Linked DNA regions of Homo sapiens: regions 1, 2, 4 and 5 are each linked to region 3. Evidence: promoter capture Hi-C in human tissues and cell types (Jung and others, 2019). All regions are on one chromosome and are shown on one strand. The core of a region is centred on a gene start or on the middle of the fragment in contact, and the rest is flanking DNA. Distances in the headings are between cores, read along the strand shown. Region 1 overlaps PITPNM2 (phosphatidylinositol transfer protein membrane associated 2). Region 2 holds the start of CCDC62 (coiled-coil domain containing 62). Region 3 holds the start of DDX55 (DEAD-box helicase 55). Region 4 overlaps PITPNM2 (phosphatidylinositol transfer protein membrane associated 2). Region 5 overlaps PITPNM2 (phosphatidylinositol transfer protein membrane associated 2).

What was found. Contacts are between HindIII fragments. The study calls those that stand out against the background at their distance.
Region 1: a fragment that was not itself captured here is called in contact with the fragment with the promoter of DDX55 in region 3 in 2 of the 25 tissues and cell types used here (dorsolateral prefrontal cortex and lymphoblastoid cells).
Region 2: the fragment with the promoter of CCDC62 here is called in contact with the fragment with the promoter of DDX55 in region 3 in 1 of the 25 tissues and cell types used here (hippocampus).
Region 4: a fragment that was not itself captured here is called in contact with the fragment with the promoter of DDX55 in region 3 in 2 of the 25 tissues and cell types used here (bladder and dorsolateral prefrontal cortex).
Region 5: a fragment that was not itself captured here is called in contact with the fragment with the promoter of DDX55 in region 3 in 1 of the 25 tissues and cell types used here (lymphoblastoid cells).

Annotation. Positions count from the first base shown.
Region 1 is chr12:123,060,147-123,062,846 of GRCh38, forward strand. All of the region lies in intron 2 of PITPNM2 (phosphatidylinositol transfer protein membrane associated 2), which reads right to left. Among named protein-coding and RNA genes, the nearest start is that of PITPNM2-AS1, 20 kb to the right of the region's middle. The HindIII fragment of the contact is 7,256 bases long and covers 1-2,700 here.
Region 2 is chr12:122,773,158-122,775,857 of GRCh38, forward strand. CCDC62 (coiled-coil domain containing 62) reads left to right here and starts at 1,415. Exons shown (of 13, transcript NM_201435.5): 1 at 1,415-1,549. The coding sequence starts at 1,514. RefSeq lists silencers at 1,253-1,462, 1,985-2,279 and enhancers at 1,562-2,255, 1,643-1,782. The HindIII fragment of the contact is 10,219 bases long and covers 1-2,700 here.
Region 3 is chr12:123,600,798-123,603,497 of GRCh38, forward strand. It overlaps DDX55 (DEAD-box helicase 55), which reads left to right and starts at 1,302. Exons shown (of 14, transcript NM_020936.3): 1 at 1,302-1,459. The coding sequence starts at 1,352. RefSeq lists a silencer at 1,664-1,773 and an enhancer at 2,014-2,063. The HindIII fragment of the contact is 15,410 bases long and covers 1-2,700 here.
Region 4 is chr12:123,037,182-123,039,881 of GRCh38, forward strand. All of the region lies in intron 2 of PITPNM2 (phosphatidylinositol transfer protein membrane associated 2), which reads right to left. Among named protein-coding and RNA genes, the nearest start is that of MIR4304, 28 kb to the left of the region's middle. The HindIII fragment of the contact is 3,834 bases long and covers 1-2,700 here.
Region 5 is chr12:122,991,175-122,993,874 of GRCh38, forward strand. PITPNM2 (phosphatidylinositol transfer protein membrane associated 2) reads right to left here. Exons shown (of 26, transcript NM_020845.3): 16 at 1,325-1,495. Among named protein-coding and RNA genes, the nearest start is that of ARL6IP4, 12 kb to the left of the region's middle. RefSeq lists an enhancer at 2,698-2,700. The HindIII fragment of the contact is 5,083 bases long and covers 1-2,700 here.

The sequences.
Region 1 (2,700 bases), core at 117-2,616, 540 kb before region 3:
GACCTTTATTTTTTTATTTTTAACCAAAGATGCTCCAGCATACTGCAGGAGAAGGAACTTGACTGGGTCACCTCCTGGTTAAAACCCTTCAAGAATTCACCTTCATTCACCAAAGCACCCTGAGCTCCTTGCCTTGGCACTGGAAGTCTTTGCACAGGCTGGTGAACTGACACCCTCACCCGTGAGGACCCAGCCCGTCTGGGTGCCATCACCTGGGTCTCCACCTCCACCGGGAAATTCTGACCTACTAAGTTGACCTAGCTCCTGACCTAACTCAAGAGCCACCTTGGCAGTAAAGCCACCCTGACCCTGTGACAGTCCCTCTGCCAAGCCCCCAGCGCCTGACACTTCCACCCAATGCTCACTCAGCAGCTCATCCTGCATGAATGCAGAGTGGCCTGGAGGGAAGTGACTGCACACAGGATATACAGACTCTCCCACCACAAATAAACAAGCGATTCTGTCAACAAAAGAGCCAGAAGAAAACTGCACTCCTATTGGAAAGGGATGAGGAGCGCAGAGGCTGCAAGGAGGGTACCAAGTCAGAGCTGGGAAGGCCCAAGGCAGGGTGGAAGGTGGAGCTCAGAGAGGGTTCCAGGGTCCCTGGGTATAGGCACGGTCCTCCTTATAGGTCACCACCTAAGGGGGCAGCAGTCCTTAAGGGTGCCAGGTTGACATAGGTGGGGTCACAAACCTCAGAAACTGAAGAACTTGCAATCCAACCCTATCATTGGGTAGATGGAAAAATTAAGGCCCAGAAAAGGGCAGACAGTTGATCTACTCATCCTTCCACCTATGCATCCCTACTCGCATCTACCCATGCATCCCTTCACCCATGCATCCACCTATCCATCTACCCATGTAGCTACCGCGCCATTCACTCATGCATGCATCCACTGATCCATCCACCCATGCATTCATCCACCCATGCATCCATCCACCCATGCATCCATCCATCATCTACATAGGGCAGGGGTGGGACTAGAGCCCAGAGCCTCTGCCTCTAAACCCAAAGGTCTTCACAACGGGTCACAGTTGACTTCTTTACACTCACGGCAGCTCTGGGAAACTTTCTGACCCCTTAATGGGTATACAGGAAGAAAGACCCTGCTAGTGGAATGGGGGAAGGGTAACAGGGCTCATGACAAGGCACGGTCTATGCAGGATGCCTGCCCTAAGGCCAATCCTCATCAACAGCTCTGTGAGGGCAGCCAACCCTAAGCCCACTCTGCAGATGAGGAAACAGGAAACAAGCTCTGGAGAGGTCTGCTGACGTGCCTACAATCCAAGGATGGTTAACCACTACAGCCATAACCCTGTCCCAGATCTCTCCACTGTCCAAGAGTAGGCCCTCTCACTGCACTATGGCACGTCAGGCATGGCTTGGGCAGGGTGGATAGGAGGCGTCCCAGTGGGCAAGAAGCTTCTCAGACCAAAGGCTTCTGAGCCAGGGTCAATGTGGTGGATGGTGGGAGTCATTGGTCATCACAAGATGATGCGTCTCACAGGAAATGGGAAAGAACTTGTACACTGGGGAGTCAGAAAAAGGGGGAAGCCTGGGGCTTTCAGGCCCTGACAAAGCTCCTGCATCCAAGGGAGCTTCTGAAGGTTGTAGGAGAAGGTGGCTGCTAGCAGGGTCCCCAAGAACAGCTGCCGACAGAGTTTGGACAAAGTTATGCCATCTCCCTATGTGCCAGTGGCTTCAGAGAGTTCTGGAGGAAAGACCCAAGAGCCGGAGCAGCTATGAGGGCTGGCTGCTGGGAAGAGATGGAGTTGGGTGCGGAGGAAGGCACAGGTGTTCTAACAAAGGGACTCTGAGAAGCAGGAACTACGGTGTAGAGGTAGGCGGTAAGTTCCTAGGGAGGCCCTGCAGCAACTGAGGGGCCCCTGCTCCTCCTCCTCCTTCTCCCTGCCAAGTAGAGCAGCCTGGCTTGCATCTGTCTGCTCCCCTCCGGTGCACCTGGGACCCTGATGCTTGCTGCTTCCCATTTCAACAAATCCAGGGAGACAGGTTCCTGAGTCCCCAGACTCCCTCCCAGACAGGCAGCCAGGTGGAAGGGAAAGTTTGGGGTCCAGCGCCTGCACTTCTCATCTCTCCGTCCTTAGATCTGATACTTGCAACTGAGCCTTGGTTTACTCATCTGTAAAGGGAGGTGGTAATACGTCCAGTGAGGGGGTAGAACACTATGCCTGGCAACCAAGATGTGTTCTGTCACCCACAGGAATACTAAAAATATCTAACCCCTGGGCACTGCTGCTGGCTGTGGGGCTGGGGGAATCCTGGAGGTGCCTGTGGACAGCATTGCCCACTTAGCTCCAGAAATCCCAGGGAAGGGACAATAAGGGGGACGGGGCAGGGGCAGAGGCTATTTACCAGCAAAAAAAAGTACAGCACTCTTGCTCTTGGGGCTAGATGTATCTAGGATTTCAGAATATCCTGAACTTTAGACAGGTAAAGCTGCATATCTCAGCAGCATCCAATAAACAAATACATTGAACTCTCTGCAGTGAAAGACATGAATATAGAATACATAAAGACTATAAATAGCCTCACTTGGACTATAAATAGCCTCACCTCAGTTCAGGAAAAATTTTGCTGCCAAATGAGTTACAAAAAAGTGTCTGGTTTTCAGTGTGCTGGATTTTGGAATTGAGGATAAGGAATTGTGGATCTGCACATCAATGTTTTCACCACATATC
Region 2 (2,700 bases), core at 165-2,664, 830 kb before region 3:
CAGGAGTGCACCACCACGCCCAGTTTAAAAAAAAATTTATTTTTTGGCCAGGTGCGGTAGCTCACACCTGTAATCCCAGCACTTTGGGAGGCTGAAGTGGGTGGGTCAACTGAGGTCAGGAGTTCGCGACCAGCCTGGCCAAGGTAGTGAAACCCATCTCTACTAAAAATACAACAAAGGTGGCGTGGTGGCGGGCACCTGTAATCCCAGCTACTCGGGAGGCTGAGGCAGGAGATTTGCTTGAGGCCAGAGGCAGAGTTTGCAGTGAGCCGAGATTGTGCCATTGCACTCCAGCTCAGGCAACAAGAGCCAGACTCCATCTCAAAAAAAAAAAAAAAAAAAGTTTTTTAGAGGTGGGTGTCACCATGTTGCTCAGGCTGGTCTCAAACTCCTGAACGCAACAGATCCTCCTACATTGGCCTCCCAAAGTGCTGGGGTTACAGGCCACTGCGCCCAGCTTTCTTGATTTTAAATTCTAAGACATTGCTTTGGTCTCCCAAACATGAGCCTATCAGTAAAGCTTCAAAATAAGAAATCTTAATTTTGTTTTTCCATTTTCAGATTGTATTTTTTGAACACAAGGGCATGTTTTGGCATTTCATATTCAACCAAAAAGTAAAGTTGAAACCCTGTAAGACCGACCGTATTTAGTAATTGTGTTGCTGTCTGATGGGTTAAGCATTCAGGGATGGGCAGCCGGGGCTGAAGTGTGATAAGCCTTATTTTTTCCTAGTCCCGTTCCCACATCTTAGGAAGAGTGAAAGGGGGATGAAGAGGTGACTATGGAAGAACAGGTGAAAAAGCTTAGATTCAACCCAGAATATCGTAGATTTTGTCATGACAAAGTACCGTGGTTCTCCTCATTGCTTTTCAGGAGCTCCCAAGAGTAAATTTCCCCCTCTTCATCTGTGATTCTTGGTTTAAAGTATCAAAGGTGCTAGGGTAGCCCGCAACTGTTATCCCCGAGGGCTGGGCTCTGCCTCCACGCATTCGAGTGTCAGGTCCTGTTCTGGGAGCCAGCTACACAGGAGCGAGCACGGCCGAGCTCACGGTTATTAGGGGGAAGATGGAAGATAGGGAAGTGAGCAACTCAAATGTCATAAACCAGAGTGCTGGGGGCGGCGCAGCAGCCTTTATTGACTTCTTCATTCTCTGGGTAGTGGTGAACAGCCGGTTCTTTCAGGCCTTCCAGCGCCGGAGCCTCGGGCGTGGGCAAAAAGCGTCCATACGCAGCCTGAGCCACTTGGGAGCCCCCAGTTTCCGAGGCAGAAGAACAGTGCCCACCAGCGCAGCGGGGCTGCGGCCCGGAAACCCTGGCGGGGAGCCCCGAGCCCCGGCGGGCGCACGCCGCGTGGGCACCAGGCAGGCGGTTGGAGTACGGGGCGGGGGTCGGCCGAGGGCGCGGGGCCCCGGGGCTCCGGGCTCGCCCCCGCCGCTCGGGGCAGGCGCGCCGATGGCGTTTCTGAGGTGACGCCGCCCACACCGGGCTTCTCCGGGGGCGGAGGAAACACCTATGAACCCTCCGGCAGCCTTCCTTGCCGGGCGCCAGGTAAGCAGCGGTTCCGGGCGCGGCGGGGCGCCGCGGGAACGGTGCACATTGGTCGAAATCTATTGCTTCTCAAGAACGGTGTCTACTTAAAATGTGAAACAGGCCGGGCGCGGTGGCTCACGCCTGTAATCCCAGCGCTTTGGGAGGCGGAGGCGGGCGGATCACGAGGTCAGGAGATCGAGACCATCCTGGCTAACACAGTGAAACCCCGTCTCTACTAAAAATAAAAAAAAAAAAATTAGCCGGGCGTGGCGGCGGGCGCCTGTAATCCCAGCTACTCGGGAGGCTGAGGCAGGAGAATGGCGTGAACCCGGGAGGCAGAGCTTGCAGTGAGCCGAGATCGCGCCACTGCACTCCAGCCTGGGCGACAGAGCGAGACTCCGTCTCAAAAAAAAAAAAAAAAAAAAAAAGTGAAACAATACACTAGAGGAAAACGGCGTCACGACCGTTTCCTTAACCCAATAACACCTTGTTATTCAGCCCGGGCCACAGAGTAGCGCGTACCCGGTGCTTACTGTTTAAGGAGGACGATTGGCGTCTGGGGAGCTGCTTTCCCATTTACCTCTCAGGGTGTCCTTAATTTACACAACCTGGCGAGTAGAGGAAGGAGCTCTCACAACTCCACTGTACCAAAAAGTCTGGAAGTGGGCTTGCCCAAGGTTCGCGTCCATCAGTGTAAGACGACCTGCCTTTGTGTACTCGGCTTACTGCCTGTTTTCCTGGAGTGGAATATGTGCTCCTTGCCTGGAGGTCTGTGGCCCAGCCACTGGCGCTCAATAAATTATTTGTTGAGTGCATGAATGAAGGGCTAACCCAACACTGGAATTCAAGCCTTGGGACTTGAAATCCCTTGACTCCAAATTCCATTTTCCTTGTTAAGACTAGCAACTGTAATTTATTCATCATTCTTATTTATTTATTTTTGAGACAGGGTCTGGCTCTGTCCCCAGGGCTGGAGTACAGTGACGCAATGTCGGCTTACTGCAGCCTCTGCTTCCCGAGTTCAAGCAATCCTCCCGCCTCAGCCTCCCAAATAGCTGGGACTACAGGCTCCCACCACCATGCCGAGCTAATTTTTGTGTTTTTAGTAGAGACAGGGTTTCGCCATGTTGGCCAGGCTGGTCTCGAACTCCCGACCTCAGGTGATCTGC
Region 3 (2,700 bases), core at 52-2,551:
CATATTGGCCAGGCTGGTCTCGAACTCCTGACCTTGAGATCTGCCCGCTTTGGCCTCCCAAAGTGGTGAGATTACAGGCGTGAGCCACCGTGCCAGGCCAATAATTTCTTTATGGCCAGTTTTTTCACAGAAAGGTGGAGAGAGAGTAATATTTTTAGGTTTTATGGCTGACTGTGGAGAAAAGGGATTCCTGTTTCTATGCTCCGTCATGGGCAAGAGGGATTCTTGAGTTTCTATGGCTAGCCTCAGAGAATCAGAGATCAGAGAGGGAGCAGAAGGTCAGAGAGAAACTTGCTTCTGAGGCTGCCTCTGGGGCCTTCATTTTGGGGTTTCGTTTTCAGAGCCTCAACAGGAGCAAGCCATGCACATAGGTGGAGGAGATAGGCCCTCATAGAGGGCACATAATGAGTGGTCAATAAAAGTTTGCTGAGTGAAGGCCGGGCGCGGTGGCTCACGCCTGTAATCCCAGCACTTTGGGAGGCCGAGGCGGGCGGATCACGAGGTCAGGAAATCGAGACCATCCTGGCTAACACGGTGAAACCCCGTCTCTACTAAAAATACAAAAAATTAGCCGGGCGTGGTGGAGGGCGCCTGCAGTCCCAGGTACTCGGGAGGCTGAGGCAGGAGAAGGGCGTGAACCCGGGAGGCGGAGCTTGCAGTGAACCGTTATAGCGCCCAGCCTCCAGCCTGGGCAACAGAGCGAGACTCCGTCTCAAACAACAACAACAACAACAACAACAACAAAAACAGCTTTCTGAGTGAAGTTGTATGTGGACATGAATGGCCCAGGCAAACAGTGAACAGAGGAATGGGACAGTGTTCTTAGTTAGGACTCTGACCCTAACTTCCGGGAAAGTAAACCAACATTCAGGACGTACCGGCCATCGGACCGCAACATTCAGGACGTACCGGCCATCAGCGGGTGCCTGTTTTGCAGGGCTGCTAACCCGGGTCCCCGACACGTTTCTCTGCCCACGGTAGCCAGCCCCGCTGTCCTTCGGCCTGGACGCGGTCCTGTGCTGCCACCTGCCTCCGAGGGGCAGAGAAAGTGGGAGGGCCGGGCCAGAATCCCTCCCGCCAAAACTCCTGCCCGGTGCGGAGAGGCGCCCGGAGCCCAGGGCGCTGTGCGGAGCGGGTGTAACTCCCCAGGCCTGCCCCGCCGCCTGCCTCCACCGTCCCGCGGACGCCTTTCCTCCCTCCCGCGGCGTGGGAGCCTTCGCCGCGCTCCGGAACTCTGCTGCTCCAGCGAAGTTCCCGGCCGGCCGCTGGAGCTGCGGGAAGCGGAAGTGCTCGTTGGGGGTGCACAAGGCGCGTTCGAGCAGCGGCGACCGACGCGGCGAAGGAGCGCGCCATGGAGCATGTGACAGAGGGCTCCTGGGAGTCGCTGCCTGTGCCGCTGCACCCGCAGGTGCTGGGCGCGCTGCGGGAGCTGGGCTTCCCGTACATGACGCCGGTGCAGGTATCGGTTCCCTGGCGTGGGGGAGTGAGGCTGGGAGAGGGGCAGGCACCCGCTGCATCGGACCCACAGGAGGTGATCGGACAGATCTGAGCCCTGGGGCGCTCATCCCTCCAGCTGGGGCTCTTGCCTTGTCTCCAGCTGCCCAGACTGGCGGAATGCGGAGCTGCCCGGCCAGCGAGCCGGCAGAGGGGCCGCGACCCACCCCGCCCTCGGGTGCTGTGGTCTCAAGCCTGGTTCTCATCCTGGCCCTGCTCGCTGTAGCTGTGAGACCTCGGGCAAATGGCTTAACCTCTCCGTGCTTCATTTTCCTTCTCTGTGAAATGACGAAAAAATAACACCCTCCTTATGGGGTTGCTGTGGGGACTAAATAAACCAGTCGGCACACTATGGGAGCTCAGTAAGGGTTACCGTTGTTATGCATCTCTTCAAGAATATTTCTTGAGGACCTGCTATGTGTCAGGAACTCTTCTAGGCTCTGGGGAGTTTGCAGTATTGGCATCTGCTCATAGCCTTACTTTCTAGTGCAAGAGCTAGAGAAAGGATAATTTCAGCTGCTGGTAAGTGTTATGAAAGAACTAAGACGGTTGTGATAGTGTCGCGCGAGGACTGCAGAGGAGGTGAGATAGGGTGTTAAGGAAGGCCTCTCTGAGGAGGTGCATTGAGCTGAGACCTCAGTGATTGAGAAGGAGCTGGCTCTGAGGTGACTAGGGGGAGATTATTCCACTGGAGAGAAATACCAGTGCACATAAATGCCCTGCGGCAGGCTGCAAATAGTTTGAGCAGCAGAAAGGAGGCCTTTGTGGCTGAACATCAAGAGTAGTGTAAGAGATGGATTGTGCAGGGTCTTGTAGGCGCTTGGATTTCATTCTAAATGTAGTGGGAAGCCATCTTATCTGGGAGGATGTTTAGGAAGGGAAGGGCTGTGATTTCTCTGTAGAGAGTGGCCTTTCCAGGCATAAGAGATGAAGCAGGCAGGTCGCTTAGGAGGCCATTGTCAGGTAAGAGATGATGGTGACTTGGAGTAGGGTGGAACCAGTGGATACTGAGAAGTCACATTTGGGATAGCTTTAAGGTTGCTAAGGGACTGGAAGTGGAGGTTAGGAAAGAAAAGACTACAGGACCTGAGGTTTTTATTCTTTTTTTTTTTTTTTTTGAGATGGAGTCTCGCTCTGTTGCCCAGGCTGGAGTGCAGTGGCGCGATCTCGGCTCACTGCAACCTCCGCCTCCTGGGTTCAAGCAAT
Region 4 (2,700 bases), core at 52-2,551, 560 kb before region 3:
TAGCAAGGGACCCAAGTCTGACACCTGGATGGACTTCCAGCTGGCTGGGAGGGTAGCACAGGCACCTGATCTGAGAAACTTACATACATAAAGGAGAGAGAGCTTTATGTTTGAGGGAAGTTGGAGGAAATTAGGGTTGGAGACGGGAAGGGAAAATTGAAGTTCAATGGGGGTTGTTTCTGAAGCTTCTTCACGTGGTTCTTCATTGAAGCCCCAGCATCGCCCAACTAGGAAGGCACAGCAGGTGCTTGGTGTGAAGCAGTACACCTGTGTGACGTGCAGCACCCACTCCGCCTCTGTGGGGCCTCAGGTGGGCTCCTTTACTGTGGGGCAAATGCAGTGACCCAGAGTGGGCAAGTCTCATTTAGTCATCTAAATAACATGGTCAGACACAGACTCTAAATGTTCTTCAGAAACCTTACGAGTCTAAGCATTCTGCCCTTTGGGAGTCTTAACCCCTCCAGCGTACATGACCTGCCCTGCTCATCCCCATGCAAATCAGTCCTTTCTCAATCCTCTCAGATTCCAGGCTCACCAGGCACTAGCAAGGTAGGACCCCCTGAGCCAGATTCATAATGTTCCTTAAATGTCTCCATCACCTCAAATAACAACCAGGGGTGAAATCTCGCAGCCTGAGCCAGCACCCAGACACTGGCTTGGGTCTCTGATTTCAAAGGCTCTGTGAGCACATGTCTGGAACAGATACCTAATGATGTTCCCCCACGGACAAGCTGTCAGGTGAGCTGTTAATTGCACAGGTGCTGTCCACAGCTCCGCTGGGATATTTTTGCGTGCAGGCAGAGGGACAGAGACAGAGAGGGAACACACACCTGGAGGGCCCAGAGGCCCCTTGGAGGCTCCTGGCACCTGGGTGGAGTGGGGCAAAGCTTAGGACCGTGCAAGGGCAGCAGCCACATGGTGGAAGAGCATCAGAAAGTGCAAGTGCTCAGGATGCAATTCCATCAAGGCTGGCTTAGGGAAAAGCAACCGTGTTTCTGCCCACAAGGAACTAAAGAGCTGTAGAGGTAAGTAAGTAGGTACATACATGGATAGGAAGAAGGAAAAAACAAATAAATCGTTCTATATCTTACAGTTAAATGCACGGGTGACTAATAGGAGAGAGGACTCAGAACTCTAAGAGTGACACAGAATGTGACGGGAGGTGACAGTTTGGAGCTCACTCTGGGATCTGACTGCAAAGCCTCACAATGCCTTTACCAGCTGTGTGACCTCCTGGAAAAGCCCCTGTATCTGCTGAGCCTCGGTCTCTCCATATATAAAATGGGGATAATACTATCTGACTTCTGGAGTTACCATGAGTGTCATGAAAACAAGATAAGTTGCTCAGTCCAGAGGGGTCTCAGGAAAGGCTTCATGGAAGGCGGAGCCAGGCTCTCTGAGATCCATGGGATTCTGCTCGGCAGAGCTGAGGGCGGGTGTGAGAAGTACTCAATCCAGTAAGAAGGAACAGCGTGAGCAAAGGCCCCAGGGCAGGAACGTGGGGCTCCATTGAGTGGCTTCCCACCATGTGCCCCTGGCATGGCCAGGCTGCATCTTGGGGAGATGAGGTGGGGCTCTCTGAAGCATGAGTTTAGGGGCTTAGACATCCTTAAAGTCATCTAAAAAATAATTACCTGGCCGGGCACGGTGGCTCACACCTATAATCCTAGCACTTTGGGAAACCAAGGCAGGAGGATTACCTGAGCCCAGGAGTTCAAGACCAGCCTGGGCAATACAGTGAGATACTGTCTCTTCAAAAAATCATACACTTAAAAAAAATTAGCTGGGCAAGGCGGCAGACACCTGTAATCCAGACACTTGGGGAGGCTAAGGGCAGAGCTGAGGGTAGGTGTGAGAAGGACTCAATCCAGTAAGAAGGAACAGCGTGAGCAAAGGCCCCAGGGCAGGAACATGGGGCTCCATCGAGTGGCCTCCCACCATGCACCCCTGGCACGGCCGGGCTGCATCCTGGGGAGATGAGGTGAGAGGATGGCTTGAGCACAGGAGGTCAAGGCTGCAGTGAGCCATGTTTGCGCTACTGCACTCCAGCCTGAATCACAGAGCAAGGCCCTGTCTCAAAAATAAATAAATACATAAAATTCAAAAAAAAAGAAAAAATTATCTGATGTTGAAATCCAACTAACCAAAAAGATAAGTCAAAATGAGGTAATAAATGGAGAAATCCTGATGAACACGGCATTGATATTTTGAAATCATGGCAATTATGTGATTGAACTGACTATCAAAACCTCAACACTGTACACAAATGATAATACAACTAAGACAAATTTGGAGAAGAACAAAGGTAGAAATATCGTTTCCTCAACTTCCATAGCATAGAAGTTGGTTCATTAAGTAGGTAGAAAAATTAGTGAGAGATGAACAGGCAGAGAATGGAGGATTTTTAGGGCAGTAAAAGTACTCTGTGGGATACTACAATGGCGGATGCATGTCCTCATACATTTGTCCAAACCCACAGAAAGTACAACATCAAGAGTGAGCCCTTGTGTAATCTACGGACTTAGGGCGATGCCATGTCACTGCAGGCTCATTCATTGTAACAAACAGGGCACATTGATGTGTGATGCTGAGAGTGGGGGAAGGGGCATATGGGAACTCCGTACTTGCCACTCAATTTTGCTGTGAATCTAAAACAGCTCTTAAAAAAAATAAAGTTTAGGTGGCTCACGCCTTAATCCC
Region 5 (2,700 bases), core at 2-2,501, 610 kb before region 3:
CTGAGCATCCCTCACACAGGCCACAGCCAGCAGCCCCTGATGGGCGTTTGGGGACAAAGGCAGGTGCTGGGGGCTCAAGCCAGGCTCACCCAGGCGCAGGCTGAAGACAGGACAGAACAGGGAGGATGGGGCTCAGCCAGACAAGCCACACCTGGACGGGGTACAGGAGGTGCCTGGGTGACCTCAGAAAGCGAAGGAGTGGGCCTTGGGGAATCCAACCCCTCGCTGGGACCAGAAGCTTCCCCAGGTGAGGGGTGGGCCCGGCTGGCTCAAGGCCTCAGTCTGCTTCTGGCAGAGCCCTGGAACTGTCGCTGACTTGCTGTGTGGCCCTGAGACGGCCTCTGCTGTCTCTGAGCTGCTGCGCCCCTTTGCTTTGGCTCTGCCCTGCCTCTGGCCCACAATATGCAGGGAGGAAGCACCGACATCAGCTCCCCAGAGCCGTCCTGCCCAAGTCTCTGTTCCTCACCACCCAGGTCCCACGAACTGTGAGTGGCCAAGGAGGGCATGGATTGGGGGGTGTCCCTGAGGACCAGGTCAACCAACGAAGCAGACGTCACCACGAGCAGGGGAGGGTACACACACTCGGCACAGCCCGGGCGGGGCCCGTCTTGCCAGGTGGGCGCGGGAACAGGCATACTGGTTTCCAGGAAGCCGTCCCCGTGGGGGAGAGGGGCCAGGGGGCCGCCCTCCAGGACCAGCTCAGGGTTTCTCTGCACGGTCTCGACTGGAGGCAGACGGGGAGAGAACAGAGGACAAGAACAGACACTTGCATGGGCCATCCAGACACGCTCTGACACAGAGACTCAGGGCTCCTCGAGGACCAGGACGTGACAAGACGCTGGGACACACGCTGGGGCAGGGGTCGGGCCAAGCCTACCTGGACCTCCCCTGCCCCAACGCATCTCCTGCACCCTATCTCGGGGCCAGCCGCCTGCCATGATGGGACCCAGCCGACCCAGGCCCCCTACTAAGTGAGGGTCCCTGCTGGGTCCTTAGCTCTGTCTCTGTTGGGATGGAGGCTCAGCTGTGGAGAGGGGAGTCTGGTCTTGTTCTGCCCTTTCCCTGCTCCGGGGACCCTGGAACAAGGCCCTGACCTGTGTCCTCTGAAAGGTGGGAACTATCATTTGTGCCTCACAGGGATCAGTGCGGAGGGATGCACCACCCCCACCCCCCACCCCCAACAGCTGTCCACCTCCAAGAGGCATTCAGCACAAGCTGTCCCTCTCACCTGGGGAAGAACCACGTAGCATGGAGGACCTAGGAGCCAGGGAGCCACGCTTACCCCACCTTCCCCCAGAGGAGTGGGGCGGAATGTGCCTCTCACCCAGCAGCGTGGAGCAGCCATCCCCCAGCGGGTAGCGTTGGTAGCGGGGGACGCTGAAAGGCGGCAGGGCGTGAAAGCGCCGTTCCAGCAGCGGCTCCAGGCGTGAAGCTGACGGGTCCGCGGGGTGGAAGAGGTTGTAGACTTGCTGGCAGGCCGGCCGCAGCTGGAAAACTGGGGGTGGGGGTGTTGGCTGCAGAGCTGGGGCTGGCCCTGAGGAGCAGTGGTGGGGGTGGGAAATTTGGGAACTGGGCACTGGGTTGTCTGCTGAAAGTTAGGGATAAGATGGGGGGTGTGTCTCTATCAATTTGGGACCTGTTTGGGTCATTGTCACTTTTTTGTTTGTTTGAGACAGGGTCTTGCTCTGTCACCCAGGCTGGAGGGCAGTGGTGCGATCTTGGTTCACTGTAGCCTCCGTCTCCTGGGCTCAAGTGATCCTACCCCCTCAGCCTCCTGAGTAGCTGGGACCACAGGTGTGCACCACCACACCTGGCTTTTTTATTTTATTTTTTGTAGAGATGGGGTCTTACTATGTTATCCAGGCTGGTCTCAAACTCCTGGACTCAAGTGATCCTCCCACCTGGGCCTCCCAAAGTGCTGGGATTACAGGCGTGAGCCACCACGCCTGACCTCTAATTTTTTTTCATTGCAAAAGTTATAATGATTGTGGTAAAAGGTGGTTTGCAGTACAGAAGAGCATATGATGAAGGGCACATGGTGGAAACCCCTTCCACCCCAGATCCCCCCGAAGCTCCAGCTCATCTTGCGGGAGCACCACCGAGTGCTGGCTAGGGCAGCCCTGCCCTGCCTGTATCGGAAAATGTTTCCCCTTCTGTCAAATGGGGCAGCAGTTCCAACCACGTCATGGAGTTAAGGAGATCACGTGAATGCAAGGTTGTGTTAATTATTAGTGCTGTATCTCACTTTTAGAGGGACATAAACCAGAACATATGCTATGCCTTCTGAACTTTGCCTTTTCCTCCCATTTAACACAAAAAATGTTGGCGTCTTTCATGTCAGCACGTCTAGTTTCTCCTTGCTCTTTTTCAGTGGAGGCGGGTACTCCACTGTGTGGTTGTGCCAGAATTTATTTAACCAGCCCCTCCACATAGACGGACATTTAAGTTGGTTCTGGTTTTTCACAATGACACATAATGGGACCACAACGGTACTGTCCCTAAGTCTCCATGCACCTGTGTGGGACTCTGTGGGGCTGTTCAGAGCCTGCAGTGGCTGGGGCACAGGGATGCCCTCCATGGGGCTGCCTTGGTTGTTGGGGTCCCCTTAAAGCTACCCATTTCTCTTCCTGGCAGTGCTGAAGTCGCCAGTTTATGGAAGGGGAAGGCACTTGGGTGCTGAGTCCAGAGGTCTGCATTTTT